Linked DNA regions of Homo sapiens: all the other regions are linked to region 1. Evidence: promoter capture Hi-C in 16 types of primary human blood cells and fetal thymus (Javierre and others, 2016). All regions are on one chromosome and are shown on one strand. The core of a region is centred on a gene start or on the middle of the fragment in contact, and the rest is flanking DNA. Distances in the headings are between cores, read along the strand shown. Region 1 holds the start of LINC03068 (long intergenic non-protein coding RNA 3068). Region 2 overlaps DPYSL4 (dihydropyrimidinase like 4). Region 3 overlaps INPP5A (inositol polyphosphate-5-phosphatase A). Region 4 overlaps INPP5A (inositol polyphosphate-5-phosphatase A).

What was found. The method cuts DNA at HindIII sites, captures the fragments that hold promoters and counts their contacts. A CHiCAGO score of 5 or more calls a contact.
Region 2: a fragment that was not itself captured here is called in contact with the fragment with the promoter of LINC03068 in region 1 in 7 of 17 cell types (naive CD4 T cells, activated CD4 T cells, naive CD8 T cells and 4 more); the score reaches 8.8 in naive CD4 T cells.
Region 3: a contact is called between a fragment that was not itself captured here and the fragment with the promoter of LINC03068 in region 1, in 1 of 17 cell types (M0 macrophages). The highest score is 6.0, in M0 macrophages.
Region 4: a contact is called between a fragment that was not itself captured here and the fragment with the promoter of LINC03068 in region 1, in 15 of 17 cell types (naive CD4 T cells, total B cells, M0 macrophages and 12 more). The highest score is 13.8, in naive CD4 T cells.

Annotation. Positions count from the first base shown.
Region 1 is chr10:132,439,193-132,446,463 of GRCh38, forward strand. It overlaps LINC03068 (long intergenic non-protein coding RNA 3068), which reads right to left and starts at 5,790. Exons shown (of 3, transcript NR_184030.1): 1 at 5,580-5,790; 2 at 3,069-3,151. LINC02870 (long intergenic non-protein coding RNA 2870) reads left to right here and starts at 5,997. Exons shown (of 3, transcript NR_149317.1): 1 at 5,997-6,086; 2 at 6,504-6,587. RefSeq lists enhancers at 1-234, 235-898 and silencers at 4,537-4,586, 4,687-4,736. The HindIII fragment of the contact is 13,459 bases long and covers 2,520-7,271 here.
Region 2 is chr10:132,200,331-132,207,601 of GRCh38, forward strand. DPYSL4 (dihydropyrimidinase like 4) reads left to right here. Exons shown (of 14, transcript NM_006426.3): 9 at 26-182; 10 at 512-653; 11 at 1,616-1,786; 12 at 2,316-2,495; 13 at 3,432-3,597; 14 at 4,509-5,429. The coding sequence ends at 4,600. STK32C (serine/threonine kinase 32C) reads right to left here. Exons shown (of 12, transcript NM_173575.4): 12 at 7,162-7,271. Among named protein-coding and RNA genes, the nearest start is that of DPYSL4, 17 kb to the left of the region's middle. The HindIII fragment of the contact is 4,048 bases long and covers 1,166-5,213 here.
Region 3 is chr10:132,665,340-132,672,610 of GRCh38, forward strand. The region is part of intron 4 of INPP5A (inositol polyphosphate-5-phosphatase A); the gene reads left to right. Among named protein-coding and RNA genes, the nearest start is that of NKX6-2, 120 kb to the right of the region's middle. RefSeq lists an enhancer at 421-1,620. The HindIII fragment of the contact is 927 bases long and covers 3,393-4,319 here.
Region 4 is chr10:132,623,624-132,630,894 of GRCh38, forward strand. The region is part of intron 2 of INPP5A (inositol polyphosphate-5-phosphatase A); the gene reads left to right. Among named protein-coding and RNA genes, the nearest start is that of INPP5A, 89 kb to the left of the region's middle. RefSeq lists an enhancer at 4,902-7,271. The HindIII fragment of the contact is 1,003 bases long and covers 4,142-5,144 here.

The DNA.
Region 1 (7,271 bases), core at 4,540-7,039:
GTGGGTCCCATTTCCTGCCCAGTGAGTCTGGCTGTCCCGGTGGCCTCTTCCTGCCTCAGAAGCCCTGGACTGAAAGCAGCACGTGATCAGCTGGACGTGGGGGAGGGACCTTCCCTGGAGCAGAAGCCTCTCGAAGGCCCTGTGTTCAGCTGAGAGTGGGTTCCAGAAAGTCATGGAATCTTCCAGAAAAGATGCCACCTACATCCCCGGGATGGCTTTGGTGAACGTGAACGTGGTGGGCTCCTGCGTCAACAGCATGGGCCTTGGCCAATCTGAGCTCCAAGGCATGCCCAGAAGACCTCCCCCAGGTGCCCACAGCTATCCTTGAAGTTGCAGAGACAGACCCCAGAATGAGCCGTGACGCCGTGCTCAAAGTGACCAAAATCCACCCAGAGCACATGCGACGTGCATGTGTGCCTGCGTGCGTGCATGTGTGTGCCTGTGTGAGGATGTGTGTGTGCCTGTGTGCCTGCATGTGGGGTGTGGGGGTGTGTGTGCCTGCATGTGGATACGTGTGTGCCTGTCTGCCTGTGTGTGGATGCATGTCTGTGTGTGCCTGCGTGTGGATGCATGTGTGCCTGTGTGCATGCATGTGGATGCATGTGTATGCCTGTGTGGATGCATGTAGATGTGTGTGTGCCTGCATGTGGATACTTGTGTGGGTGTGTATGCCCATGTGAGTGTATGCCTGCATGTGTGTGTGTCTGTGGATGTGTGTAGATGTGCATGTTCCTGTGTGCCTGTGGGTGGATGTGTGTGTGCATGTGTGTGCCTGCATGTGGATGTGTGTGTTCATGTGTGCGTGTGTGCCTGCGTGTGGACGCATGTGTGCGTGTGTGCGCCTGTGTGTGGATGCATGTGTGCATGTGCGGATGTCTGTCTGTGGATTTGTGTGCATCTGTGTGTGGACTCGTGTGTGTGTGCATGTGTGCCTGCATGAGGGGGCCTTTCCCCCACCCCACCACAGGCTGGCACTCCCAAAACAGCTGGAGTGCTGCCCTCATCTCCCACTACCCTCACCCCCAGCACACAGGATCTGGGCCCACTGTCTCCCCCCCAGCACACGGGATCTGGACCCACTGTCTCCCCTGCCCAGCACACGGGATCTGGGCCCACTGTCTCCCCCCAGCACACGGGATCTGGACCCACTGTCTTCCCAGCACACGGGATCTGGGCCCACTGTCTCCCCTGCCCAGCACATGGGATCTGGACCCACTGTCTTCCCAGCACACGGGATCTGGGCCCACTGTCTCCCCTGCCCAGCACATGGGATCTGGACCCACTGTCTTCCCAGCACACGGGATCTGGGCCCACTGTCTCCCCCCCAGCACACAGGATCTGGGCCCACTGTCTCCCCCCCAGCACACGGGATCTGGGCCCACTGTCTCCCCCCCAGCACACGGGATCTGGGCCCACTGTCTCCCCCCAGCACATGGGATCTGGACCCACTGTCTTCCCAGCACACGGGATCTGGGCCCACTGTCTCCCCCCAGCACACGGGATCTGGACCCACTGTCTCCCCTGCCCAGCACACGGGATCTGGGCCCACTGTCTACCCCCCCAGCACACAGGATCTGGGCCCACTGTCTCCCCAGCACACAGGATCTGGGCCCACTCTCTCCCCAGCACACAGGATCTGGGCCCACTGTCTCCTCAGCAGCGTCCCTGAGCCCCACTGTCCATGGCCCCAGCCACCACTGTGGTGCAGACTCTGGCTCTCAGGACCCCCCCACGCCCTGCCATCTCCACTCCATGGGTTCCCTCACACTAGGCTGAGTGATGCCCAGCACCAGGCATCTCTTGCAGGGCCCGGGACCCCATTCCTCGAAGACGGCTCAGGGCCGAGGGTGGTTGCGTGGCAGGCACTAGGCCTCTCAAATTGGCCTGCAGAATGCTGCCTGCGGTGGGACAGGGCCTACTCCGCCAGCCGACAGCATGTGTACCCTCGAGGCCAGCAGAAGAGAAAGGGAGGTTTCATGTTCTAATTTTCATTTTCGTCAGAATATACTCATAGAGTGAGAACTCAAGCAGCACAGGAAAGGCTGGGGCAGGACTTCCTGAGCCCCCACGGCCACTCTTCAACCCAGGAGCCTCTCCCTGAGCCCGGTTTCTGGTCCTAGAGCCTTAAGCCTGGCAAGACACTCGCCCCGCCGCTCCTGCCCCATGCCTTTGGGGGTGTCGGGATGCCCCACTTTAAGCCGGGCTGAGCTCATCTCCACCCGACCTCCCCGCACTCACGTCAGTGGCCTTTTCAGTCCTGCCGTCCTGGTGGGGTGCAGTGGCCCAGGGTCCTGGCTACCTAATGAGCTCCCCAGGCAAACGTTGGAGCAGAAGGGATCACAAGTGGCACAGCCAAAGGAACGGATTCCAGAAACGTGAGCTGGTGGTTGAAAACACTCACGTGAGCAATTGAAAAGGCCGTGAAACCATTACCAAACATTGAGAGCAGAAATGGAATTTAAAGCGAAGGTGGGTAAAACCCCGAATTCTCCTGATCCCAGATTTCTTTTTCTTTTTTAAGCTTATTTGCTTATTACAAAATGAATCCACTCTTTTTACAGAACAATTACAAAATATTGACAGCCAAGCATGGTATCCTAAACCAGCCCATCCCTCACACATTCAGGGGCAGCTCCTGTTAACCCGGGGTTCCCTCCTCAGGGCTGTTAGCAGGTGCGTATGCATGTGAGTGTGGGTGTGCGTGTGTGCATATGAGTGTGCATGTGCGTATGTGCACGTGTGACTTGCGTGAGTGTGCATGTGCGTGTGCGTGTGTGCACGCATGTGTGTGTGAATGTAGGAGCGCATGTGTGCATGTATGTATGAGTGCATTGCATGTGTGCACGTGTGTGTGCATGTGTGTACGTATATGTGTATGAGTGTGTGTGTGCACGTGTGTGTGCATGTGCGTGTGTGCGCATGCATGTGAGTTTAGGAGTGCATGTGTGCATGTATGTGTATAAGTGGGCATGTGAGTGTATGAGTGTGCATGTGTGTACATGTGTGTGTTTACGCATGTGTATGCATGTGTGCGTGTGTATTCTTAACCCAAGGGAGGCACTGCTTACCACTGGATCATAACCAGATGTTTAACCAGTCTTCAGAGGGAGGACATTTAGGTTCTTTCCAAATGCAGCACAGAGCAGGGGCGCTGGGGAAGGGGAAAGGAAAAAGAGCTCAGCGCAGGGAACTCGTGATCTTGTAGAGACAAACGGAAACATTCACACACCAAGGGACAGCAGCAGAATGGAGGGGCTGAAATGGGGGGGCCGGAATGGGGGGGGCAGATGGGGGATTGGAATGGGGGGGCCAGAATGGAGGGGCCAGAATGGGGGGCCTGGAATGCGGGGGCCGGAATGGGGGGACCGGAATGGGGGGGCTGGAATGGGGTGCCGGAATGGGGGGGCCGGAATGGGCGGGGGGCCAGGACGGGGCGGCCGGCATGAGGTACTAGACTCTTCCTTAAGTGGGGTGGGACACATCCACAATAAAATGTTTAAAAAGAAGGAAAAGGACCAGGGCACTTCAGAAAAAATGAAGGAAGCCACATGGGAGACGTCACAAGGCATTGCCCACCCCTTGCCCACCCCGTGGGCTCCCAGCCAGCAGGCAGGGCAGGGTGCACACTTCCTCCTGCCTCCCCGAGGTCCCCGGGGCTGACCACAGGTTCACATGGGCAGCGAGGTGGTCGCAGGAGGACGGGGCCTGGAGATCCAGCCCCAGATGACACTGCAGGCCCCGGCAGGGGACGGTGCCACCCTCACCTCTGCCTTCTTGCCTCTGCTCTGCCTGGCCCATGGCTCTGTAGGCCTCCGTCCTCTAAGGACTCAAATTTTTTAATATAAAAATAAGTTGCAGGCCGGGTGTGGTGGCTCACACCTGTAATCCCAGCACTTTGGGAGGCCGAGGTGGGCAGATTACCTGAGGTCAGGAGTTCAAGACCAGACTGGCCAATATGGTGAAACCCTATCTCTACTAAAAACACAAAAATTAGCTGGACATGGTGGGGGACGCCTTTAGTCCCAGCTACTTGGGAGGCTGAGGTAGGAGAATTCCTTGAGCCCAGGAGACGGAGGTTGCAGTGAGCTGAGATCGTGCCACTGCACTCCAGCCTGGGCAACAGAGTGAGACTCTGTCTCAAATAAAATAAAATAAGGCCAGGTGCGGTGGCTCACGCCTGTAATCCCAGCACCTTGGGAGGCCAAGGCAGGTGGATCACGAGGTCAAGAGACTGAGACCATCCTGGCTAACACGGTGAAACCCCATCTCTACTAAAAATACAAAAAATTAGCCAGGCGTGGTGGCGGGCGCCTGTAGTCCCAGCTACTCGGGAGGCTGAGGCAGGAGAATGGCGTGAACCCGGGAGGCGGAGCTTGCAGTGAGCCGAGATCACGCCACTGCACTCCAGCCTGGGCGACAGAGCGAGACTCCGTCTCCAAAATAAATAAATAAATAAAATAAAATAAAATAAAAAGTTGCAGTGTCAGCAATGAGTTAGCTCTTTAATGGGGGCTTTTTTAAATGAATATTTCTCAGCTGTTGGTGAGCTCAGCTGAGGGAGGGCGGGCGCCACGGGTCCCTGACTCAGACCTGACTGTGGGGCTGGGACACGACTGCCCCTAGTGGGAGCAAGGCCCAACGGTTGGGGGGTGCCCAGCGCCCAGCCAGCAGCTGGGGTGTCTGTGGGGGCTCCCCCATCGCCCTCCCCTCCCCCTTCCCTTCCTTCCCTCTCCTCTCAACCCCCACTCCCCTCACACCTTCCCCTCCCCCTCACTCCTCTCCCCTCTCCTCAGGGCTCCCTGGCTTCCTGCCTCACCCTTCCCCTCCCCCCACTCCCCTTCCTCAGGGCTCCCTCCCCTCACTCCCTCCCCACTCACTCCCTCTCCCCTTCCTCAGGGCTCCCCGCCTCACTCCCTCCCTGCTCACTCCCCTCCCCTTCCTCAGGGCTCCCCACCCCCCCACTCCTCCTCCCCTCTCCTCAGGGCTCCCCCCCTCACTCCCACTCACTCTCCTCCCCTCTCCTCAGGGCTCCCTCCCTCCTCACTCCCTCCCCGCTCACTCCCCTCCCCTTCCTCAGGGCTCCCTCCCCCCTCACTCCCTCCCCCGCTCGCTCACTCCCTCTCGCCTCTCCTCAGGGCTCCCCGGCTTCCTGCCTCTCTGAATTCCTCCTCCAGACCCTCAAGGCTCCCTGCTCATTCCCTCTGGGGTCCTGAGGTCTCCAAGGGCCACTCTGGCTTCCCCCCTGCAGACCCACCCTCCTAGGGGAACAGGGTGACCCCACACAGACACTGATGGGACAAGAGAACCAGCCCTGCAGAAAGCCTCCAGGTGAGGCTGACAGTGCTGGTCCTGTGACGGGGAAGCAGGTGAGAGCCATCTCTGGCCTCAAGGCTGATCAGCAGCCCCCAAGGTGTCCTCTGCAGAGAGGGCCAGCCTCAGGCCTGCCACCCCGTAGACCACAGGGACCTGTCCTGAGATTCCTCCATTTCTGAGCACCAGCCTAGGAAATGATGGAGGGTCTGGCCCCCAGGCCCAGACCCCCAGGCCCCCTGCCCCCGTCTAGGTCCCCAGGTACTTGCAGAAAAGAAGGGGTGAGCACAGCCTTCTGTAAGGGGGCGCCCGAGTCCTGGCCAAGGTGGCCGCCCACCCTGGGGCTCCAAGGTCCAGGCAGCCACCTCTTCGGTCTCTGCCCTTAATGTGGGGCAGAGTGGCAGGTCAGAGCCCCGGCCCTGGCCCCGGCCCCAGCCCCAGCTCCTCCTCAGCCACAGGGGCATCTCCAATTCCTGAAATAATTCAGTTCCCTCTCCTGGGCACCTCTAGAGCCCAGCTGGGCCCAGGGTGTGTTCTGCAGTTGTGGGGGTGGGGGGGAGGATTTTGCAACCCTACCCTCTCTGCAGGGTACCTCCGGTGGCTCTGGCCTCTGGGCCCCATGCTGTGCCAGACACACAGAGAGGCTCAGCCAGTTATTTCCAAGAGGCCAGGCAGGCAGGAGAGGCCCAGGATCTGCCAGGACTGGGAAGGGAGGCAGGAGGCTTCTCTGGGTATAAAGCAGCTGAAATGTGGAGTTTCCTCCCAGGAGCTGAGAGGTAGCTGCAGGGCGAGCCCTGGGGGAAGTGTGCAGCCGCTGGAGCTCCGTCCTGGGCAGGGGTGGTCACGGCTTGAGGATGGCAAGGGCTGATGCCTTGTTTGCTTTTAAAATTGTTGCTATTTGCTGTAGTTCCCCTGTTATTCCTAAACTCTCAGGAAGCACCTACTGGCCTCAAGGTAGTCTCGCTTATGGGGCTGGGGATGAAGAAGAGTGGGGTGTGCAGGTGGGCAGAGCTCCAGCGGCAGGAGGCTGAGGGCGGGCTGGGGAGTAGCAGCAGGGGATGGGCACGAGGCCCCTTCGGTCCTCCTGCAGCTGTTTTAATGTGGCGTTTTGGAAAGAGCCGCACCCCGTGGGTGCCTATGGGAAGGAGGCGTCTTAGTCACATGCCCCTAACGATTGCGGCGTTTCTCTACAGCGTGTCCATGGGCCCAGTGCCTGGCGTGTCCTCCCTGGGAGCTTGCTGGACGCATGACCAGGATTCTGGGAGGGCAGAGGACAGGTGGGTCCTGGTGGTAGGTCAGCTGCTGAGTTTCCCTATGACGTTTGTTCCGCTGGTGCCCAGAGCCCCTTCAAGGTGTCCATCATCAGGGGAGAAGTGGCGCCACAAACTGCCTTTTAACCCTGGGGTCCTGCCAAGAGGTCTGGGGTGTCCTGGGGCCTGTGGCCTGGGCTGCAAGTGCAGCCAGTTCCCTCAGGGCATGGCCACCAGCCCTGGGCTCCCGTGCCCGGGTTTCCCTGCCTGCCTGGCTGGTCAGAGGAGGGAGTCCCTCTATCCACTCTGCCCCACATTAAGGGGAGAGACTGAAGAGGTGGCTGCCTGGACTGTGGAGCCCCAGGGTGGGCGGCCACCTTGGCCAGGACTCGGGCGCCCCCTTACAGAAGGCTGTGCTCACCCCTTCTTTTCTGCAAGTACCTGGGGACCTAGACGGGGGCAGGGGATGCCCAAAAGGGCCTAGACACCTTCCATGGCAGCCGCCATCACAGGGTCTGTGGGAGGGCGTGTCCTCCCTTCCGCAGGCCTGGTGGGCAGCGAGGCCGTGCAGCTGCGACCCACCCTCACATCCGGGCCGGGAGCGGACTGAGGCCCAAGGCTGAGCCTCCACTCTGGACCTGGGACGTCTGGGCAGAGGAGCCCCGTGGTGGGGCCAGGGCGAGGGCATAGGGGCCTCAGGGTGGGCCCTGG
Region 2 (7,271 bases), core at 1,940-4,439, 240 kb before region 1:
ACCTCTCATGGGCCTCGTGCTGCAGGGGTGGTCGTGTTTGGGGAGCCCATCACCGCCAGCCTGGGCACCGACGGTTCACACTACTGGAGCAAGAACTGGGCCAAGGCCGCAGCCTTCGTCACATCACCCCCTGTCAACCCAGACCCCACCACGGCGGACCACCTCACCTGCTTGCTGTCCAGGTAAGCAGCCTCTCCAGGTGGCCCCAGGTTGGCCGCCCGCTGCACACCCTGCCAAGGCTGTGGCCCCGACACCCCAGGCCTCTCCCACGGCTCCCATAGGGCAGCCCGGACAGTGGCGGGTGGGGAAGTCTGAGCCCTTTGGTCCCAGCGGGGGCTCCCCTGGCAGGAACCAGTCCCCGCTCCCCTGCACAGAGGCACCAGCTCTGCCCAGCGAGAGCCACTCAGATGACCTCTAGCCCCTGCGGCTGTGCTGGCCAAGGGGGCTGGAGCTGACCTGGCCTCTGCCGGCTCAGGAAGGCCAGGACCCTCTGACCCTGGCTTGTTTCCAGCGGGGACCTCCAGGTGACAGGCAGCGCCCACTGCACCTTCACCACTGCCCAGAAGGCTGTGGGCAAGGACAACTTCGCGCTGATCCCCGAGGGCACCAACGGCATTGAGGAGCGCATGTCGATGGTCTGGGAGAAATGTGTGGTGAGCACAGGCCTGGCCGGGGCACGCCGTCTGGGGAGCGGCTGTGGGCGGGATTGTGATGGCTGGTCAGAAGGGAGCCCATCTAACCAGTGCACACTCGTGAAACAGATCAGAGCACACGGGCTCCGGGGTGGCGGATTCCCCACCCAGGGCGCCTCAGACACGTGGTTCTGGCCCCTCCAGATGAGACTCCAACAGCAACAGGGGCAGCTGGTAGCCCCCCACCCCTCAGCAGACTCTAGTGTTGCCCGGACACTGTGTTTGCCCAGGGGTCAGCATGGGGTCTCCACGCTGTGATGTTAGTGCTCCCCCGCGATGCCCTCACGACCCGTCGCACACCGCCCTGTCCTGCGCCCTCCCGCATCCTCAGCCCCACCTCCCCGGGCAACTGAGCTCTTCCCCTCAGCTGCTCCTGCCTTCCCAGCCTCCAGGGCTCCCCAAGGAGACTGTCACGTCCTTCAGGGGACACAGGTGTTGCCACTGAAGCTCCACTCTCGCTGAACCTTCGTGGAAGCTTTACCCACAAAGTGAATGCAGAAAGGCTTCGCCCAGGAAGGGGCAGACCAGCAGGCATCACTGAGATGGGCTCCCTGACTCACCAGTGCAGCGTTCTTACCCCAGGGGTTACTCAGGCGTTCTTACCCTGAGTGTTGCCATGGCGAGGGCCGTGGCTGGAGCCCTGTCCTGATCTTGGCTGCCTGGGTGGCACTCTAGTGCCCGTCTTCACGGGGGCCTGGTATCCGTCTTTGTGGGGTCCCAGCGGTCCAGCATCTGACCTGGCAGGGGCCCCGTGTCCTGCCGTCCAACCTTGTGGGGGGCCTGGTGGTCCAGCGTCTGTCCTCACGGGGGCCTGGTGACCTGGCATCCATCCTTGTGGGGTCCTGGTGGCCCAGTGTCTGTCCTCGCGCAAGCCTCACCCCAACCCCACCCGTCGCCCTCAGCTCAGCCTTCTTGTTCCCCAGGCCTCTGGGAAGATGGACGAGAATGAGTTCGTCGCGGTGACCAGTACAAATGCTGCCAAAATCTTCAATTTTTACCCAAGGAAGGGGCGAGTGGCTGTGGGCTCTGACGCTGACCTGGTCATATGGAACCCCAAGGCCACCAAGATCATCTCTGCCAAGACCCACAATCTGGTAAGAGAAGGCGGCTGTAAGTCAGGGTTGGCCTTTGTGGGGCCGGGACCCCAGGGCAGCCTTCCCAGGAGAGGCGCAGGACAGAGGCCCACGTGGCAGCAGCAGTGGCCTCAGCCATCCCAGGGCCGTCCACACAGCCTGTCCCAGGCCAGACACTGAAATGGGCCCTGTCCACGTCACCTCGCTGCGTGGCCGCTGCATCTGTGGTCCCCTTGTGCCATGGAGGAGGCTGGGGCAGAGCGGTGCCGTGTGCACCTGCCTAGCCAAGGGAGAAGTGACCCTCCCTGCCTGCCCACGCCTGTCCCCTTTGTCCTCGAGAGAAACGGGACTCAGAAACGAGGTCCGTAGGCCGAGGGGGGGCATTCCTCCCGAGTTCCAACCCCTCAGTTCCAGCATCTTGCTAGGGGCTCAGTGTAGGCACACCGGGCCTGCTCCACGCTGGGCGGCCACAGTGCTCCAGCGGCTCAACGGGGATGGGACTGTTGGGCCCCAGCGTGGAGGCACTGGACCCTCGGGCCTCTCTCCCCAGAACGTGGAGTACAACATCTTCGAGGGAGTGGAGTGCCGGGGAGCGCCTGCCGTGGTCATAAGTCAGGGCCGAGTGGCGCTGGAGGACGGGAAGATGTTTGTCACCCCGGGGGCGGGCCGCTTCGTCCCTCGGAAAACATTCCCGGACTTTGTCTACAAGAGGATCAAAGCTCGCAACAGGGTAGGGCGGCACCCGCAAGGGTGTTGTGCAGGTAGGCAGGTGGGCGCTGAGTTCTAGGCCCAGAACGCACCCCTGGTCAACCTGGCCCGGCCTCCCGAGGGGTCAGGAAGACAGAGCGGGGCCGCTGCTTGCCCAGGGCCCTGGTGGGTCTAAGTGGAGAAGAGCCTGCTCCCGGAAGATGGCAGGGGAGGCCCCCATGGCACTGGGACCTTCAGGCCCTGGATCAGCTCTGCAAGTGCCTGTGAACGGCAGCTGGGTCCCACCCAAGTCATCCACGGTTGTTAGAGAAAATACAGATATAAAGTGAGCAGAAATCTAGCTCCCCACGGGAGCTGCCCAGTTGGACCTCAGTGTGGGTCCTTCTGGGATTCCCCATGGACAGACGTGCACGCTGATTTGTGGACTGGGGCGTGTGCTCCTCTCCACATGGGCTCTCAGGAGCTCAGCCACGGGAGCCCCCCCCCCATGGCCTTCCAGTCTCTTACTGTGGTGACGCCACGCTTGCCCGGCATCATCCGTGTCTGACGGTGCAGCAGGTGTGGTCTCCCCAGACCACCAGGTGCTTCACACACGCACAGGGGCACTCGCAGTGGCGTCTGTGCACACACAAGTGCACGTGGGGCCTCGGAGGGAGGTTGAGCATGTGCACCTGTGTTGGTAAGACTGAGGGGAGGGACGTTTGCACACACATGCAGATGGGACCGCAGGCGGGCATTATACACGTATGGGGAGGACTGCAAGGAGGGAGGCGTGTGTGAACTTGGGTTGAGCACCCCCCCAGGGCAGCCCCAAATTCCTGAAGCTGGCACTGGAGAGGCGCAGAGCAGGCCCAGCCCTCCAGCTGCCCATGCTCAGCCCCTCATGCCCCATCTCTGGCCCCACAGCTGCCCAGGCTCAGCCCCTCATGCCCTGTCTCTGCCCCCACCCCCCCGGCAGCTGGCGGAGATCCACGGTGTGCCCCGTGGACTGTATGACGGGCCCGTCCACGAGGTGATGGTGCCTGCCAAGCCAGGGAGTGGCGCTCCGGCCCGCGCGTCCTGCCCAGGCAAGATCTCCGTCCCTCCTGTGCGCAACCTACATCAGTCGGGGTTCAGCCTATCTGGTGAGTTGGGCCTGGGGCACCAGTGGGGGTGAGGGGCTCTGCCGGAGCATCCAGGGCCTCAGGTACCAGGGCCCAGCCTGTGCCCAGAGGGGCTGCACACGGAAGGCACCCAGCTGGGGACTGGGGCAGGAGATGCTGCTGGGGGTGTTGTGGGGGCCAAGGGCTGAGCCCAGTTAGGGAGGCCCCTCCTGCCCGCTGTCTGCCCAGGGCAGCTGTGATGAACCCTCACCTTCAAGACAGTGGCACTGGGGTGAGGCTGTCACATGGAACCCAGGAGTGAGCATGGATCCAGCCTCAGGGGAGGTGGGAGGCCTTGACGAGGATCTCAGGATCATGTGGAATCCAGGTCCCCACCCAGCAGGCCCCAGAACCAAGCGTGAGGCACAAGGGAGGGTCTGAGCTGTGTCCCGGGGCCTGGAGGGATACACGAGAATGCCTGGGAGGGCTCAGGCTGCCAGGGTCCGGCCTCTGGCGTCGCTTCTGGTGCATTCTCCGGACCCAGGAAGGTGATAGCAAAGCCCTGCTCACCTCCTGGGGACTCAGGCCTGGGGGCAGGTCCCTGAGAACCCGGCACTGTCTGGGAGGCCAGGGGCAGCCTTTCATCACCCGGAACCCAGAGCAGGGACGAGGCAGGACTGGCCCGGGTTCCTCTCGGGACAGGAAGGGCTTCCTGCAGCCCACAGTCCCCGCAGGTTTCATGATCTCCTGGGCAGCCTCACCTGCACCCCGGGCCTCAGGGATGGGAGTCCTGCCGGGCACCTGGTCTGCTTGGCCTTCTGGTGGTGGCAGGTGTGCGGGGGCTCTGCAGTCCTGGCCCCACTGACGCAGCCACTGACTCTGCCTCACGCCTTGAATAGAAGGGCCCCTGCCCCTGCCTCATTCTCCCCTGCCCATCTGTGCCCTTTCTTCAGGGTCTCAGGCTGATGACCACATCGCCCGACGCACAGCACAGAAGATCATGGCACCACCTGGCGGCCGCTCCAACATCACCTCTCTCTCCTAGACGCCCAGGACCGGCCCTGTGAGCCGTGCTGGCCCCACCCGAGGCCGCGGGGGCCCCAGGGCACTCGCCCCCCTCCTTAGCATTTTCTTTTGTAGAAGTTTCTCGAAGGTGCTTGGCGGTCTTGCCTTCCCCCTCCCCACAGGCTCTCCTTGTGGGGTCCCAGGTCCTGCTGCCAAGAGCCCCTCAAGAGAAGGGCTGAACCTGGGGAGATGTCACTGCCAGGGTGAGGTGGAGCCACATGGCAGGGACAATGCCGGCAGCCTGAGCCCAGGCACCCCAGTGCCCGCTGGGCCCAGCCTGGGGACAGGGAACCTGCCGGGCTCACAGTGTGGGAGCAGCTGGACACCAGGCTTCTTGGTGAACCGGCGAGGGGCCGAGTCCCGCCTGGTGGGCATTTGCCGCCGCCTCCCCACCACCAGTCACTGCCTCGCAGAGCCCTACACTCCCGCAGCCGCTCCTCAGAGGCCTGTGCCCATCGCAGGCCTGGGAGGAAAGTGGGCGCAGAGCCCTCCTGCTCACACAGCTGCTGAGACTTCAGGGACCCATCAGAACTTGGTGCAGCACAGCCCCGCCCGTGGAGGGTCCCTTTTACGCACCCCAAGGCCCACACCTAAGCTTCCATGTAGCCCTCATCCAGGGAAGTTTTGCGATCCTTTAGGAAGACACTGTCCTCTTATTACAGATTGTGTATTTCCGTAGGCTTCTTAGTAGCAGCTTTGTACACTGAGGACACTGTAGCCAGGAACCTGTGCATGCCACCCACCGCCTGGACAGGCAGTCATCCTGCCTCTGATGTGAATCAGGCCCATTAAAGACGTCTGGGTTTGAAGCCGCCTGTGCATGGAAGGAAGGCCCCGTCTCCTCTCCCCCACGCCGTCTCTGCACAGGCGGGGCCTGGCTGGCTGTGGGCTGGTCCGACGACTCCTGCAGCCGCAGCTCTTCTCCCCTCAATGGCAGGGAGGAGCGCACCCTCTCACAGGGAAGAGGGCCGGCAGGGCAGCCAACATCCAGGGCGGGGCAGAGGGCAGCCAACATCCAGGGCGGGACAGAGGCCCCCCCCCCCCCCCGCCTACATTCTCACCGGACAGCCCGAGCCACCCCAGAAGGCCGGGGAGCATGCACGGGAGTGTGTGGAAGTGAAGCACACACCACCGCCACCCAGGTGGGCGCTGCTCACAGACGCAGGCCCAGCACTCAAGGCCGGGCAGCTATGAGGCTGACCCGAGCCCCCGGTGTGTGACTGCGGTGCTGGCGCGTGCTGTGTCTCAAAGGGTGCGTGGACGTTCCCAGACGGTTGTCCTCATCCCAAGAGCGGGGCCTGGTCGCAGTCACTGGGCACTCGCTGTTTGTTGAGCAGAGAGCCAGGGACACCTTGTGCCACCGGTTCTCTGGCCCCTGCCCATGCACCGATGGTGACAGAGAATTTCCTGCCGTGGTCTCTGGGAACCACAGACAGGCCCATCTCTCACCCTGGGCTGCTTATAAAGCTGTGCAGATCCCAGGCGAAGGCCCTGGGCCCTCAGCATTTCCTTCCCGGGGCTCCCTCTGGCCCAGATGTGGGAGCTGATGTCCCCCACACCAGCATCTCCCACTCTGCCCCAGTGTGGGGGGCGATCAAGGGAACCAGACAGCACCCACACCTCACCAGTGTCTCGAAGGAGGACAAGGTGCACCACCCTGCCATGTTCCCCAAATGCACTTATTCAAACCCCCACACCTGTCCTTGCCCCGAGCCTGTCTCTGACATCGCCAGACTTCCACCGAGTACACGGCGCCTCTGGGCCCTCGCAGAGACCGGGCCACCCTTCCTGGTGGTGATTTGGGTGCCGTGTCCCCCATGTGAGCTGCTGAGGGCTGGAAGGCTAGTTTCTGCCATGATTCAGAGGACAGGGGTGGGTGGGGGACGGGAAGCTGCATTCTATCCCCTCGGACTTCTGACTCTGCTCGTGGCATGGCCGGTTCTTCCCCAAATGTTCTTTGGCCGTTGTCATCTCCATCTCGCAGCCCAGCCAAGGACGGGAGGGCCCTGTTTGCCAGGGGTGCAGTGGGGCTCATGGACACAGGTCTAGGCACATGTCCACTATGGCCGCTGTCCTGGGAAGGGGCACAGACCCGCCACACCCATTTCCTCAGAGGAAACCAGCACAGGCCTGTCTGGAGCGCTGGGCTGATGGGCTGAGCCCGTCCTCCTCCAGCGAGACCAGAGAGAAGCACACAGGCCGTTTACCCAGTTAGTTACAGTTCCAACCACAGAACCACCCAGCCACAGTGAGAGGGATACGTCCCTTTATGGAGGGCCAAGCACTGCCCGGCACTGCGGTGGCTCCACGGTGCACGGTGCTGTCCTGGGCTCCTCTGCCTCCAGGACCGTCTCTGCCTTCCACAGCCTTACGGCTCCAGGGCCACGGAGACAGGCACCCACCCCAAAGCCATGGTCCGGGAGCTCTGCCCTGAGGAGCTGCCCACCCCACTGGCTGCCCCAAGTCCAGGCCAACCAGAAACGGCAGGCACCGGCCTGACGGCCAGGCAGACACAGGACGTACGCAGAACATGCAACATCGAGCGGTTCTCACATTGTAATTCTCAGAGGTGAAAACTACAGAAATTGCTGGAGCAGTTTGAATCTCTAGAAAACATTCACCTCCCCACCCACTACCCCAACCCATGCCCT
Region 3 (7,271 bases), core at 2,606-5,105, 220 kb after region 1:
CTGTGTTTTTCCCCTCGATTCTGTGTCGCTAATTGTTAATTATGACAAAGGAAAAGTGATATTAAGATTCGGGGTATTTGTTTCATTGTGTAATTTCTTCCTTGGTTAAAAGGGAAGAATGGGCTGGGTGTAGTGCTTCACACCTGTAATCCCAGCACTCTGGGAGGCTGAGGCAGGTGAATTGCTTGAGCTTAGGAGTAATCCCAGCACTCTGGGAGGCTGAGGCAGGTGAATTGCTTGAGCTTAGGAGTAATCCCAGCACTCTGGGAGGCTGAGGCAGGTGAATTGCTTGAGCTTAGGAGTAATCCCAGCACTCTGGGAGGCTGAGGCAGGTGAATTGCTTGAGTTTAGGAGTAATCCCAGCACTCTGGGAGGCTGAGGCAGATGAATTGCTTGAGCTTAGGAGTAATCCCAGCACTCTGGGAGGCTGAGGCAGGTGAATTGCTTGAGCTTAGGAGTAATCCCAGCACTCTGGGAGGCTGAGGCAGGTGAATTGCTTGAGCTTAGGAGTTCAAGACCAGCCTGGCCAACATGGGGAAACCCCATCTCTACTGAAAATACAAAAATTAGCCAGCTGCAATGGCGTGCACCTGTAGTCGCAGCTACTTGGGAGGCTGAGGCTGGAGGATCGTGTGAGCCTGGGAGGTGGAGGTAGCAGTGAGCCAAGATCACACCACTGCACTGCAGCCTGGGCAACAGAGCAAGATCCTGTCTCAAAAAAAAAAAAAAAAGAGAAGAATGATATAACCACATTAGTCCTTTACCAGGTTTGCCTTAAAACTGAGTCACTGTGTGCCTGGCCTTTACTCAGCGCTTCCTCCCATGTCGTGACTGTTATAATGCATCATTACTTCCTCACTATGATTCATCTAGGAACTTGGGGGAGTAATTCATAGTCAGGGATATTTATGTTTAAACCGACAGAAAGGGAGAGCCATTTGAACACATTATTCCATGTTTTCACTGGTTTTAAATCTGATTTCTGCTGGCTGGGGGAAACTTGAGGAACTGTGAAGTCATCGTAGGCAGTAGGGAGGTAACGGATAAGGGCCTTTCAAGCATGCAGTGAAGAGACACCAGCTGTACAGCTCCCTCCTGTATGGAAAAGGTGGAATTTAGACAGTTAAAGTATTAAAGTATACATCACTGGGTTTGAAAACAGCCACAAAAAAACCCCTGTCGGATCACCCAAAACCGCTGGCCCCGTGGCGCACCATCCCGAGGCTGCCGACTTTGCAGTGGGGCTCTCTTTCCTTCTGGAGTGCAGCAGCATCTGGAATTGTCTGGGAAAACCCTGAAGGATGGCCCACACCGAGCCGAAACATCTTTCAAACGGAAATTGTTACACTGTGCTCTTCATCTTGAAATTAATGTTTGGTTGTCAATTTTTATTGCTGACCTAATGGATGAAGTCCAGCAATTGCAGCTGTCCCCTTAAAGCGGCCCCCAGCGTGTGCTGTGCAGACCTTCTCGGCAGGCTACCCACCCACCTCATCCGTAAGTGGACTCGGGTAGAGAAAGATATCTGTGCATTGAGAGCTCGTTGGAGATAACTTGAGTCATAATGTGTACTGAGTGTGCTGGGAATCATAGGAGGGTAAAGGTGGTTTTTAAAAAAGTTATTTTCATTAATTCCTCTCACCCCCAACCCCCTCTGCCACCTGGGACAAAAAAATGGCAGGGTCCTGCTGGATGCCGCTTTCCAAGCTGGGGCAGACCCGCCAGTGTTGAGCAAGAGGGAGGTTTCATCTGAGGCTGGCTGAGTTTTATATATCTATTTATGAGATCCAATAATGTAATGATGTGCTTGTCTAATAAATGCTGCTGTACAAGCTCAGGACAGCAGACGTTTCCAGTATGACCTGGATTGTCTAAGCCGCAGCCCCTTTTGGTTGGAGCTCGGCTGTTTAATAAATGTCGGCTGTTCTTCCAACCATCATAATTATTTAAAGGGGCTTCAAAAGAGAGAGAACAAATCAAATCAAGCCATTACTGTTGAAGCTCGTTCTGGAGTTAAGTGTGTTTTTAAAACTGTGGGCCTTGTGCAGAGGCTCCTCCCAGTTTTCATCTATTATCACAATAATTGAGTTTGTAGCTGGAATTAAATTTATCAAATTGCGTTATCCTCTTTAGAAATTGGATAGGCATGCTGGCAGGGCGAGGCAGAAGTTAATCTGCTTTGCTGAAGCCTCCAGTGGCCCTGCACAGCGGGGCTGAAGAGGCCCAGACAGCTTCCTGTCACCCCGGACACGATGTAATTTCTCCTCAATCCCTTGTGCAAATAATGACATTTGAATCGAGCATTAACAGGCTTAATTACTTTAAAATTGTCATTTTAATTTACACTGATATAGTATTGATCATACAAGCAGAGATTAAGCTGTTCAGTGGAGCAGATGATGGGGAATTAAACATTAAAGGGTCCTCAGGGGGCCGTGTGCGCTGCCCGGCGCGAGCCGGAAGAGGGATGATATTTCTCGGTAATGAACTGGCGGCATGCGGGGACATGAATCTTGGGCTCTTGGAAAAGGGGAAATAATGGGGTTTGGGAGGCATTTGCAGGTTATTCATTCGCCGCCATGCACCAATTCTCCAGTGATTCATCCGCCTCACCAACATTTATTTATCCAGCAAATTCCGGAGCTTTGACCTTTTTGCTAAGTACATTGAACATAAGTTGGAGTGGAGATCTTTCAAGTGTAACTTTTACAAGTATTTGTTATTTTTCCTTATTTCTAGGCAACATTAAACAAAGTTATTCAGTTTTTTGAGTGTACTGGAGTCTGCCGGCCTTGCAGGGTTGGTGTGGTGGTGAGGGACTAATGGGCTCCTGCAGCCCAGCCCCACACTTGACTTTTGAAAATTCCAGTGGCAGATCCCAGGCTCAGGTGTCACTGATCCTTTCTTAGGTGAAATGACACGAGAGCCTCACGTTCCTGCCATGGGCTGATGGCCTCGGCCTCCTTTCAGTTGAGGCTTTCTGTTGGTGGTTAGGGGGCAAAGTGACGCCCTGTAACTTATTGATGCTGCCATGGAAAAAATATGGAAATGAAGCAGAACATGAGTTTCTCAGAAGCACATTTGACGGACTTCTTTTGGCGAAAATCAGAGCACTTCAAATCCTGTAACCTCAAACTGTTTCACTTTTCAGAGGTTATATAATAAAAAGTTAAGTGATTGATTTTATAGTTCAGTAGGGAGTGATGAAATTCTTGATCACTATCCATAATGGCTTTATTTTAAACAGTGGGCTAGAGATTTAATTAAAGCATGATCAGGGAAATGAAAAAATGTTGATATTTCTCCTCAAATTAAACATGAATTTGCACAGGGAGCATTAGAAGGGCTTATCATTCCTCCTGATGTTTTTATTCTCTTCCGTAGGATTTAAAAGCTTGCGGCCCACTTCACCCCTCTCTGAATAGCTCAGGGGGCTTCAGCCCCTGTTGACCGTGCTCTGGGTTTGGTCCATTTCTGTGGCTTTCTTTAAAAACTGCCGAGCTCCATCGCACGACCACCACTGCTGGCGTTTATTGAGCGTGTACTGCTTGTGAGGCTTTGTTCTGGGGGATCATTTCCCCACTTTATCTTTGGGGTGCCGGAGACACAGGAAGGTTAAGAAACAGCCGGTGAGGCCGGGCATGGTGGCTCACTCCTGTAATCCCAGCATTTTGGGAGGCCGAGGTGGGTGGGTCACGAGGTCAGGAGATAGAGACCATTCTGCCAACATGGTGAAACCCCGTCTCTACTAAAAATACAAAAAATTAGCCAGGCGTGGTGGTGGGCGCCTGTAGTCCCAGCTACTCGGGAGGCTGAGGCAGGAGAATGGCGTGAACCCAGGAGGCGGAGCTTGCAGTGAGCAGACATCGTGCCACCGCACTCCAGCCTTGGAGACAGAGTGAGACTCCATCTCAAAATAAACAAACAAACAGCCGGTGAGTAGCACCAGCTTGTGTGAAGCTGGGAAGTAGCCCCGTGAGCGCCAGGTGTTGCCGGGCCAGGCCTTCCCTGTGAGGCGGGTTCCCTGGTGCCCACTGTGGCCTACTCTGAGGGGCACAATGCAGGCTCCTATTCTTAACCTCAAGGCTTTCTATGTAGCACGTCCTCACGGGACCACAGAACGAGAGGGAGCTGGGGGTGTGGTGGAGGAGTGGCAAGTGACAGGGCAGAAACAGCTGCTCGAGGAGGCCCCGTGTTCTCCTGGGGGACCGTCGGTGACATTTCAGCCTGGCTTAGCTGCGTCCTTGAAAGTGGTTCTGCTTCTCTTACGTGCTTGCAGACACCATTCATGTGTCCTTAGTCTGACAGTGACTTGGTCAAGCTTGGAGGATGTGGGGCCTGCCTGTGCGTGCCCCATGGGCAGAGAGGGCGGGCGCGGTTCGTGCTGGACTCTAGATGTGCAGCTCCAAGTGAGATGTGGGTAGATGCCATTGGGATTTTGGCGTGAGCGTGGACCTGGGTTTCTGGAAGGGCATTGTTCCCGTGTCCCTGTCCCCACTGTGGCCTTGCTGAGCCCCCAGGGAGCCAGGACCCGCTGGTGACTGCTCCCTCTCTGTCCTCAGGGTGCAGCCCTGCACAGCCCTTCTAGCCCTCTCAGGTCTTTCTTTTGTCCAAACTCTTATCTTCTCTTGGGTCCCCAGGGTCACCAACCTCTTTGCAGAAAATCCCTCTGCAGCCACTGACCCCACACCCCCAGCCCCCATGCCCTCACTGCACACGTTCTCAGCCCCCATGTCCTCAGCTTCCAATCCCTAAACCCCACGTCCTGAAACCCACACCCTCAGCCTCCACCCCCAAGACCCTACACCCTCTGACTGCGCACTCCCAGAACCTGCACCTGACCCCACACCCCCTGACCCCACCCCCCCGACCCCACACCCCCTGACCCTACACCCCCTGACCCCACACCCCCTGACCCCACACCCCTGACCCCACATCCTCTGCATACTCCCAGAACCCACACCTGACCCCACACCCCAGACCCTACATCCTCTGTGCACTCCCAGAACCTGCACCTGACCCCACCCCCCCGACCTCACACCCCCTGACCCTACATCCTCTGAGTGCGCACTCCCAGAACCCGCACCTGACCCCCACACCCCCTGACACCACCCCACAGCCCCCATCTTCAGCCTCTCCTCTGCTGTAGTCCCCAGCCCCTGGCTGGCTTGCTTCTCAGCACAGCCCTGGCCCAGAAGCAGGAGGACACTGTCAGCCCCTCCTTGCTGGGGGGAGAGTGGTTGGGGCACACCTGTCCCCTGCCCCTCTGCTGCCCACAGCACAGCTAAGTCTTCACCCTGCCTGCGCGCATCCCTGTGGCCTTCTGGGAGGTCCCAGTGGGGAGCCTGTCTTCTCCCCAGAACACCCAGTCTCCCTTTGTGCCGGGTCACCCCTGTGAGCAAACAGGCAGGCATTTCCCTCTTAGGGAAGAAGCCTCCCTTGACCCCGTATCTCCCCAGCTCCTTGTCCTATAGAAACTGATTTCTTGGCAGTGTCTTTCTTTCTTTTTTTTTTTTTTTTTTTTTTAAGGAAAATGATGGATATTCATGTGGTCAGGACAGCGGTGCCAAAGTGGAGAAACTGCAAACGGCGGTGACGGCTTGACGGGCGTCACTTTTCCTTGGTCTTTGTCAGTCAGGTCTAATTTATAACAGGGCCATTAGTGGGAGATAGCTTTCTTTGGATGTCTTTTCCCGTAAGGGTTGCTCATGGTTTGGCCTCAGTAAAGAAAAGAGAAGGTCTCTCTTTCATATTGTTGGAAGCAGCAGGTGGCCCACTCCTTCTGGAGTGAGGCATGGGCATGTGGGCACGCCTCCATCTGTCAGGAGTGTCCCTGTCTCTCCCTTCTGATTGGGACAGTGGGTCACACTGGTGGCCAGTGGGCAACTGGGGCCCCTGGAGCCGTGGCCTCCCCTGGGCCCAAGGGAGGCACAGATGACTTAGGAGTGGAGAGTTCAAACGTGGGCTGCGGCGAGGCTTGTGCCCTCCCTGCTTCGGACTCCGCCCTCCCTGCTTCGGACTCCGCCCTCCCTGCTTCGGACTCCGCCCTCCCTGCTCTGGACTCCGCCCTCCCTGCTTCGGACTCCGCCCTCCCTGCTTCGGACTCGGCCCTCCCTGCTCTGGACTCCGCCCTCCCTGCTTCTGACTCCACCCTTTCTGCTTCGGTATCTACCTCCTTGCTTTGGAAGGACACAACCTTCTTGGCTGGCACAGCCCTTCCTGCCATGCCTGTTGATCCCATCATCAGCCAAGGATGTGTTGGGGCCGTATTCTGCGGCTCCTCCAGCATGGGAAGGTGCTGACAGGAAGCAGCACCAACACCTCCTGGAATAGCCGTTGGCACATGAGCTTCCTGATACTGTTTCATGTGCCTTACATGTGCCACCCATGCAGGGATCAGAGCAGCCCTATGAAGTGGGTACTGTTATTTGTCTTCCCCGTGTCACAGATAGAGATGTTGAGGCACAGAGAGGTTCAGGGACCAACCAGAAGAGGCCAATGTGGGATTTGAACTTGGTTCTGGCCTCAGAGCCTGTACTCTCAACCAGCCTGCTCTGCTCTCAGAAGGGGACAGCGCAGGAAAGGCCAGCTTCAGCCAGGGTGACGGTGGGGGTGGTGCTCAGGGTGGACAGCATTGATTAGAGGTGACTGTTGTCCAATATTCAGCTAAACTGTAGGTTTTAAAGCTTGAGGACAGGTTTCGTTAGAGGTCAAAATTCAGTAGTTCCTTTCCCAAGGATGTAGGGAGAGAACTACGTTTTGTTAAGTGGCTCTTATTGAGCATTGTGACATTCTTTTGCTAAAAACATGTTTGTGCATGTATACACTTGTACTAAGAAAATATCTTCATTTTATTTCCTTTTCCTTTATCATGTGACATAAGATTTATTCACTTCATATCAGCATTTAAGTATTGTCAACTTTATGAAATAATATTTGGGTTGGCGATTGGTTTTGAAATGTGAGGACAGGAGATCTGGGAGGGGTCGGGATGGAATAATATGGTTTGGCTGCGTCCCCACCCAAATCTCATCTTGAATTCCCACATGTTATGGGAGGGACCCTGCGGGAGGCAAGGGGATCATGGGGGCAGGTCTTTCCCATGGTGTTCTCATGGTGGTGGGTGGGTCTCATGAGATCTGATGGTTTTACAAAGAGGAGTTTCCCTGCACAAGCTCTTTCTTTGCCTGCTTCCATCCATATAAGATGTGACTTGCTCCTCCTTGCCTTCTGCCATGATTGTGAGGCCTTACCAGCCATGTGGAACTGTA
Region 4 (7,271 bases), core at 3,393-5,892, 180 kb after region 1:
ATAAAAGAAAAGAATTGGCAAATTCAAATATATCATAATTAGGAACTTCTGCTCTTTGTTAAGACACTGTGAAAAGAATGAAAAGACATATCACAGATTGGAGGAAAATATTTGCAAATTACATATTTGATGAAGGACTTGTATCTAGAATATACAAAGAACTCTGAAAAGCCAATAATAAGAAAGCAAAGAACCCAATTTTAAAATAACTGAAAAATTTTACTAGATACTTCACTGAAGAAGAGAATACAAATGGCAAGTAAGTGCCTGAGATGGTGCTCAGCTTCAGTAGTCTTTCGGGAAATGCAGATTACAGCAACATAATCAGTACGTGCCTATTAGACTGGCTAAAATTCAATTGGCTGTAAAAACAGTACAGAAACCCTGACAATACTCAGTGTTGATGAAGACGCAGGGCCACCGGAAGTCCTATGCCTGCTGCTGGCCCTGCAGATCCCTATGGCCATCAGGGAATCTGTCATTTCTTATAAAGTTGGACGTGTGGCCACCCCCTGACCCACGCACGTTGCTCCTGCTCACCGGCTGACATGATGGCGCCTGTTTGCACAGAAGCCTGAAGCAAATGTTCACAGCTGCTTCACCTGTGATCCCCGCCTCTGCTGCGTGGTTCCATTTCTGGGTCACATGGAAGCGGGGGAGCTGTGGGCACAGAGATGAGCGGTTCTTACAGAGGCCTGGGGTCTTTGAAGGAGTTTGAAGTGTGAGCTCGCTGTTTTGGCTGTGGTGCCACTTGCACACCGGCATGCCCGTGCTTCACACCGGCGCGCCCTCACCAGCACACCTGCACCTCACACCGGCACGTGCACTTCCCACCAGCGTGTCTGCACTTCCCACCGGCGTGTCTGCACTTCCCACCGGCGTGTCTGCACTTCCACCGGCGTGTCTGCACTTCCCACTGGCGTGTCTGCACTTGGGGAATGTGCATTTCCCTTTGGCAGCTCCTGTCTTCTGTGCGGTTCCTCCCATTCCCACCTGTTTGGTGCCTGGCATGTAGGCCGTGGTCTCTGCCCGTTCAGCACCTCCATACATGCTCAGGACTCCCCACCTTTCTGTTCAAACCCAAACCCCTCCTTTCCTTCCAGACTCTTGGTTCCAGCTGCCTGGATGCCCTGTGGCCTGCCGGACTTAGAATGTCCAGAGGGGCTTCTCCGTCCTCTGCTCCACACCCCACCCCCGCCCTGGCCTGCCCCACAGTGTCACCCTCCTGGCTGACACAGCTCCATGCCGCCGGTGCCAGGGCCCACACCGTGGCATCTGCCTCTTCTCCCATGTGGCATCGCACCTGTCAGCAGGTGCTGCCCCGCCACCCTCAGAGGCTCCCTGGCATCTGGCATTGGTCACTGTCCCTGCTGCCACCCTGCCCACGCCACAGTCCACTCTCCTTGGTTGGTTGCAGGGCCTCCTGCTCCTGCCTCAGTTTTCTCACAGGCTGAGCCTTGGAGGCCCCGCCCCTTCCCTCTCTCCCTCCCCCCTCCCCCTCCCTCCTTCCTTCCTTCCCTCCCTCCAGCTGGCCTTGCTCTGCCATCTCAGGACCTCGCACAGGCCACCGCTCCCTCTGACGGCACCTCTGCTCCCTGCCTGTCCCTGTCCTTCCCCCTCACGTGGCTCAACCCAAGGCTTTCCCTACTCCGCTCCTGTCATCCCACCCCACACCCCTTTCTCAGCAGGATCTTTTTCTGTGGCCCTGTGTCTTTCTGAATTACTGTATGATTTCCCAGCTTCTGAGTCAATGCCTGGGCTAGGGAGGGAGGCAGTCAATAAATATTCATGTCTTGGTTTGAGGTCTCCCAAAACACACCCCAGGCAGGATTCCAGTGAAAGCAGTTGAGCTGGGAGGTGCAGGAAAAACCAGCTGGGGAGTGGGTAGATGAGACTAGGAGGGGAGGCTTTGGGAGCCCCTTGAGGCACAGGGGTCTCAGACTGGCCGGCAGCTGGCTGAGGGGCACTGAAGGGCAGGCCCGGGGACATGGGAGCCTCTGCTGCAGGGGCAAGGGGTGACCCCTGGCCAGTCCTGAGGCTTCCTGACCAAGGTCGGGCCCTGTGACTCTCAGTTCCTTTCTTTGGCTGAGGTCAGGGGCGTGCCTTGGCCCTGGGCATTGCACGGAGCAGGGGGTTCTGGAGGGGGAGGTGCCATCCTGCCTGGCCCAACTTCCCACTCACCTGAGGCTGCTTCTCTGCAAGGGCTGGCAGGACTTCTGTGTGTGTGTGTGTGTGTGTGTGTGTGTGTGTGTGTTTGTGTGTGTGTGTGTACAGTGTTTGTAAACTTGAGGTAGTTTATACACAGTAAAATATATTGATCTTTGGTGCATGTTTCTTCGATTTTGACAAATGCGCACACCTGTATAGTGCCCGCCCCAACATAATGGGGAATTTCCATCTTCCTCTTCCCTGCTGCCCCGCCCCTCGGGTACCACAGATCCGTTTTTCCCATTCCAGAACGTCACACGCTGAGACCCAGGGAACGTGGCGGCACCCGCCTGCTTTCCCTGTGCTAGTGTGTTGAGCCAGTTCCGTGTTGTCACACACTGTGGCTCAGTGCTGTCATCACGAGCACTGGTCCTGGATCCTGCTGTGTGGGGCCCACTCTGCGCTCCCCACTCTCCCCTTGGTGACACCTGGGCTATATCCAGGTTCGCCTGGTTAAACAAAGCTGCCGTGCATGTGGACACGCAGGCTTCCCGGGACACACGCCTTCATTCTGCCTGGGTCCATTCCTCAGGGAGACTGTTGGCTGTAGGGTGGGTGTGTGTTGAAGGCTTCAAGGAGCTGCCCAGGTGAGGTGCCTGGTCACGCCTGCAGCCAGTAGGTGGGAGTCCTGGTCACTCCATGTGTCTCTCACAGTTGGTGCTGTCCTTTGCCTTTCGGCTCCCTGACACCGCTAAGTGCCTCGTAGCAATATACAGTTGTGGGAGCTGGCGTGTTCAAGATCGCAGACTGTGCAATTCTTTCTCTCTGTTCTGAAGTGAGATTTTGTGGGTGTGCACAAGAGCCCTCTGTCAGTATCCACAAGGTGGATTCTGGTGTTCGTTTTAGCCAGCACTTAGATTCTTTACAGACAGATTGTCAAGGCTTGCTGTGGAATGCACACGTTAGCAGTCTGCTGTGCCCTGTGGACAGCCCGAGCTCACAGCAGTGCAGGGGTTCCTGTGGCGACTGTGGGAGGCCCCTTGTTGGCTCCGTGTGAGGCCCTCCCAGCTCATGCCCCACTGCCCTCGAAGGGTCGTGTGTTCTGCTAGAGTCTGTTTGGCTGTAGTTTGGTCCTGTGCTTGGCACTGGGGCGGGGTGGGTGTCATAGACCAAATTGTGTCCCCCCAAGTTCATAGGTTGTGCTCTGACCCCAGTGTAATGGTATTGAGGGGGGTGGGCCCTTTGGGAGGTGATGGGGTGAGATGAGGTTATGCGGTGGGCCCCCCGGATGGGATGGGTGCCCTTACAAGAAGGGACACGGGATCAGGCTCTCTCCACAGGGCGCAGAGGCAGCTCTGTGAGCCAGGAAGGACCCTCACCAGGAACCAAACCGGCCGGCTTCTTGGCCTCAGACTGACAGCTCCAGAACTGGGAGAAATACGTGTCTCGTTTAGGCTCTCTGGTCTGTGGCATTTTGTGATGGAGCCTCTGCCGACCGAGGGAGGGGCTGAGGGTGGACAGGCTGGGAATACCTCACCTTGGGTGCTCCCAGGAGGCTTCACGGGGAGACCGGGGCCGGGAGCTGCTGCTGGCTCCACACCTGTCCTGAGAGGGTCTGTCCTGGCCGCTGAGCAGGTGGGTCTGGAGGGCGGTGGGGCTGGCGGTGCTGGGCGCGGCTCCCAAGATGCGTGCAGCTGTCCGCGGTGGCTGCCTCGTCCAGCAGCGTCCCTGCCAGAAGTGGGTGCTTTGAGGGCCAGTGCCTGGTCTGTCCCGACTCCCTCTGTGTCCCCAGCTGCCAGCAACGTGCAGCGGATGACAAGTGAAATGAACGAGGGAGTGAGAGCCGAAAAAGACACCTTCCAGGAATCGTGGTGAAAGCAGCGAGCACAGTGTGGTCCGGGGCTGGGGGTGTGAGATGGCTGGGATTATAGTGAGAGGCGAGACAGGGGATGCAGACGGGTAGATGCCACAGGGCCTCCTCTTCCCCGTGAAAAGCTTCAGACTTTCTTCATCCTCAGGGTAACGGCAGCCACGGACAGATTTGTGAGGACCTTTGGTTGGAGTATTGGAAACCGGGAGGGGTGAGGCCGTGGAGAGAGCCGTGTGGGGGAGGTGCCCAGGCTGGAGTGGCGGCGTCGGGTGTGGAGAGAAACTGGAGATAAGGGACGCGAATCTGACTCGGTGACTTTGTTGTTGATGTTGATGTCTTCACTGGTTGCCATTGCCCAGGAGGGTGTTTACAGCACAGCGCTCTGATCAGCAGCTGCGGATCTACTCTTGGTGAAGAGCAACCATTAGATTAGGCTCAAGTGTGGAAATTAACCGCAAACCAGATTCTAAAAGCAGACCTCCTGCCAGTGGTCTGGTCTCCTTTGGAAGACAGTGTGATCCTTGTCTGCCTGACGCAGCTCAGGCCCATTCCTACCAGCTCAGTAAGGGCCGGCATGGCTGAGAGCCCATCGTGGACCCTGGGAGGAGACTGATGGGAGGCTCCCCTTTCTGGGCTGTGTAACCTCACCGTGCCCCGCTTCCTCGTGAGCATGCACCCATGGCTGGCAATGACTGTGAGGAGTGACAGAGTGAATTCCACCGGGCCGGCAGCACCATTCAGGAAGCACTAACTGCTGTGAGGGCCTGGAGCCCTGTGCCCTATGGTGGCCGCCCCCTCTCCCTCCAGATGTGCTCTGGTGGCGGGGGGGGGGGGGGGCGTGGCGTGGGGGACACGTAGAAGGAAACATGGCTGTTTATTTCCTTTCCGGATGGGGAAGGCTTTTCTAAACTCCACATAGTTGAAGGAATTTGTAGAGGCAAAGACTGATGGATTCGAGTAAATAAAACTGGCAGGACTTTTCTTAGGCTCTTAGAGTTTAAATGTGATTAAAAGGCAGACTGGGAATATATTTTTAAAAACAACAATAGGCTGGTTTAACAATTTTTATAAAGAACTCTTATAAATGAAAGAGAACATGTAAAATTCCAATAGAAAGATGGTCAAAAGCTTCTCTTAGAATCTAGCCCAGCCCCATCCAATAGAAATGGTGTGTAAAGTGCATATGTCATTTCAAAGTTTGAAGAGTCACATTTTAAAAAGCAAAAAGAAATAGGTGAAATTATTTTAATAATATATTTTATTTCACCCAGTGTATCTAGAATGTTATCATTTCAACATATAATCAGTATACAGTTATTAATGAGACATGTTATCTGTTTTTGTGTGGCCTTCAGAACCGGGTGTGTTTGACCCTGAGCCGTGGCCGCACAGATGGCAGGAGCGAGGGGAGGTGGCTGCCAGGTAGTGCCCCTTCCTTGCTTACAGCTGAAGCAGCACCTGGCATTCCCATTCTTGGCCTCTGGGTGCCGAGGGTGGGTCCATTTGGCTGCCTGACGTGTGTCCCCAGCACTGCAGATGGGTGGTTCCTCTTTAAGCTACCTGGTGTTATACAGCAGTGGCCTCAAACTTGCTCTTGCCCTCTGACCCCAGCCCTCCCCTCCTAAGAGCTCCAGAAACACAGACTCCACGTGAGGGAACCCCAGCTCTGTTGTAGGGCAGTGCGCTGCCCGCCTGCTCAACTTCAGGTGACGAATGGCCCCATCCTCTCGAGCCAGGGCCCTGCAGCTGTTCAGTGTCTTCATGAACTTTCAGTGACTCAGGAAAGTGGCTGAAGATAAAAATCTCATCGTACATCTTTGAAGGGAGTTGTGTTACATTTGCATGCATAGCGGAAGATTGGCTGTGGGGCGACGGGAGACCTGAACAGAAGGTTCTTCTGTGTCCCCTCTTTTTCTGGAAGTCTCCAGTGTGGCTCCAGGGTTGGTGCTAGTGGCTGTGGAATGAGTGTTCACTTGCTGCTGCGTGGTTTGGCCCTTCCCTCTGCATTGTGCGGACAGCCCTGTGCTGCGGCAGTTCTCCACATGCATTCCACACGTGAGCATCCATGAGGGGTGGGTATCCACAAGGGAATGGCATCCACGATGGCCAGGTGGCCTCCGGGGAAGCTGTCCTCCAGGGAAGGCATCCATGAGGGAGGGTCCATGAGTGGAGGGTATCCATGAGGGAGGGGTGTCCACAAGGGCAGGGTGTCCTCCAGGGGAAGCTGCCCTCCAGGGAAAGACAATCATAAGGGGAAAGTGTCCATAAGGGGAAGGCATCCAAGAAGGGTGGGCGTCCTTGAGGGGAGAGTGTTCTTGAGGGCAAAGCGTTCTTGAGGGAACGTCATCCTCGAGGGAAAAGCATCCTCCAGGGGAAGGTGGCATCCATGAGGGAAAGGTGTTCATGGAGGAGGGCGTCCTCGAGGATAGGGTACCCTCTAGGGAAAGACATCCTTCAGAAAGGCATCTATGAGGGGATGATGTCCTCCAGGAAAAGGCGTCTATGAGGGAAAGCCATCCATGAAGAAAAGGCGTCCATGAGGGTAAGGTGTCCATGAGGGGAAGGCGTCCATGAGGGAAAGCTGTCCATGAGGGGAAGACGTCCATGAGGGGAAGGCGTCCATGAGGGGAAGGCATCCTTGAGGGGAAGGCATCCTCCAGGGATATGTGTCTGTGAGGGGAGGGTGTCCTCTAGGGAAAGGCCTCCATGAGGGAAAGACGTCCTTGAGGGGAGGTGTCCTTGAGGAAAAGATGTCTATGAGGAGATGGTGTCCATAAGGGAAAGGTGCCCATGAGGGGAGGGTGTCCTTGAGGGGAAGGCAAGCTCTAGGGAAAGGCATACATGAAGAGAGGCCATCCTTGAGGAAAAGGCATCCATGAGGGAAAGGCTTTCATGAGGGAAAGATGTCCATGAGGGGAAGACATCCATGAGAGGAAGACGTCCATGAGGGGAAGACGTCCATGAGGGGAAGACATCCATGAGGGGAAGACATCCATGAGGGGAAGACATCCATGAGGGGAAGACATCCATGAGGGGAAGGCATCAGTGAAGTGAAAGTGTCCATGAGGGTGGGGGGCGGGTGGGGCCTCGGTCGCACCTGCCATGACCCTGGACTTAACCTTGCCCTGCCCTGTGCGGTGGTGGGGGCCGGGAGGCGGCGGGGGCGGCGGGGGACGTGCTTCTTAAACTAGAGCTGATTTGTGGGAGCTTCGATGGCCCAAGCCCGGACTTTGTTCGGGTTAGAGCCCTGCGT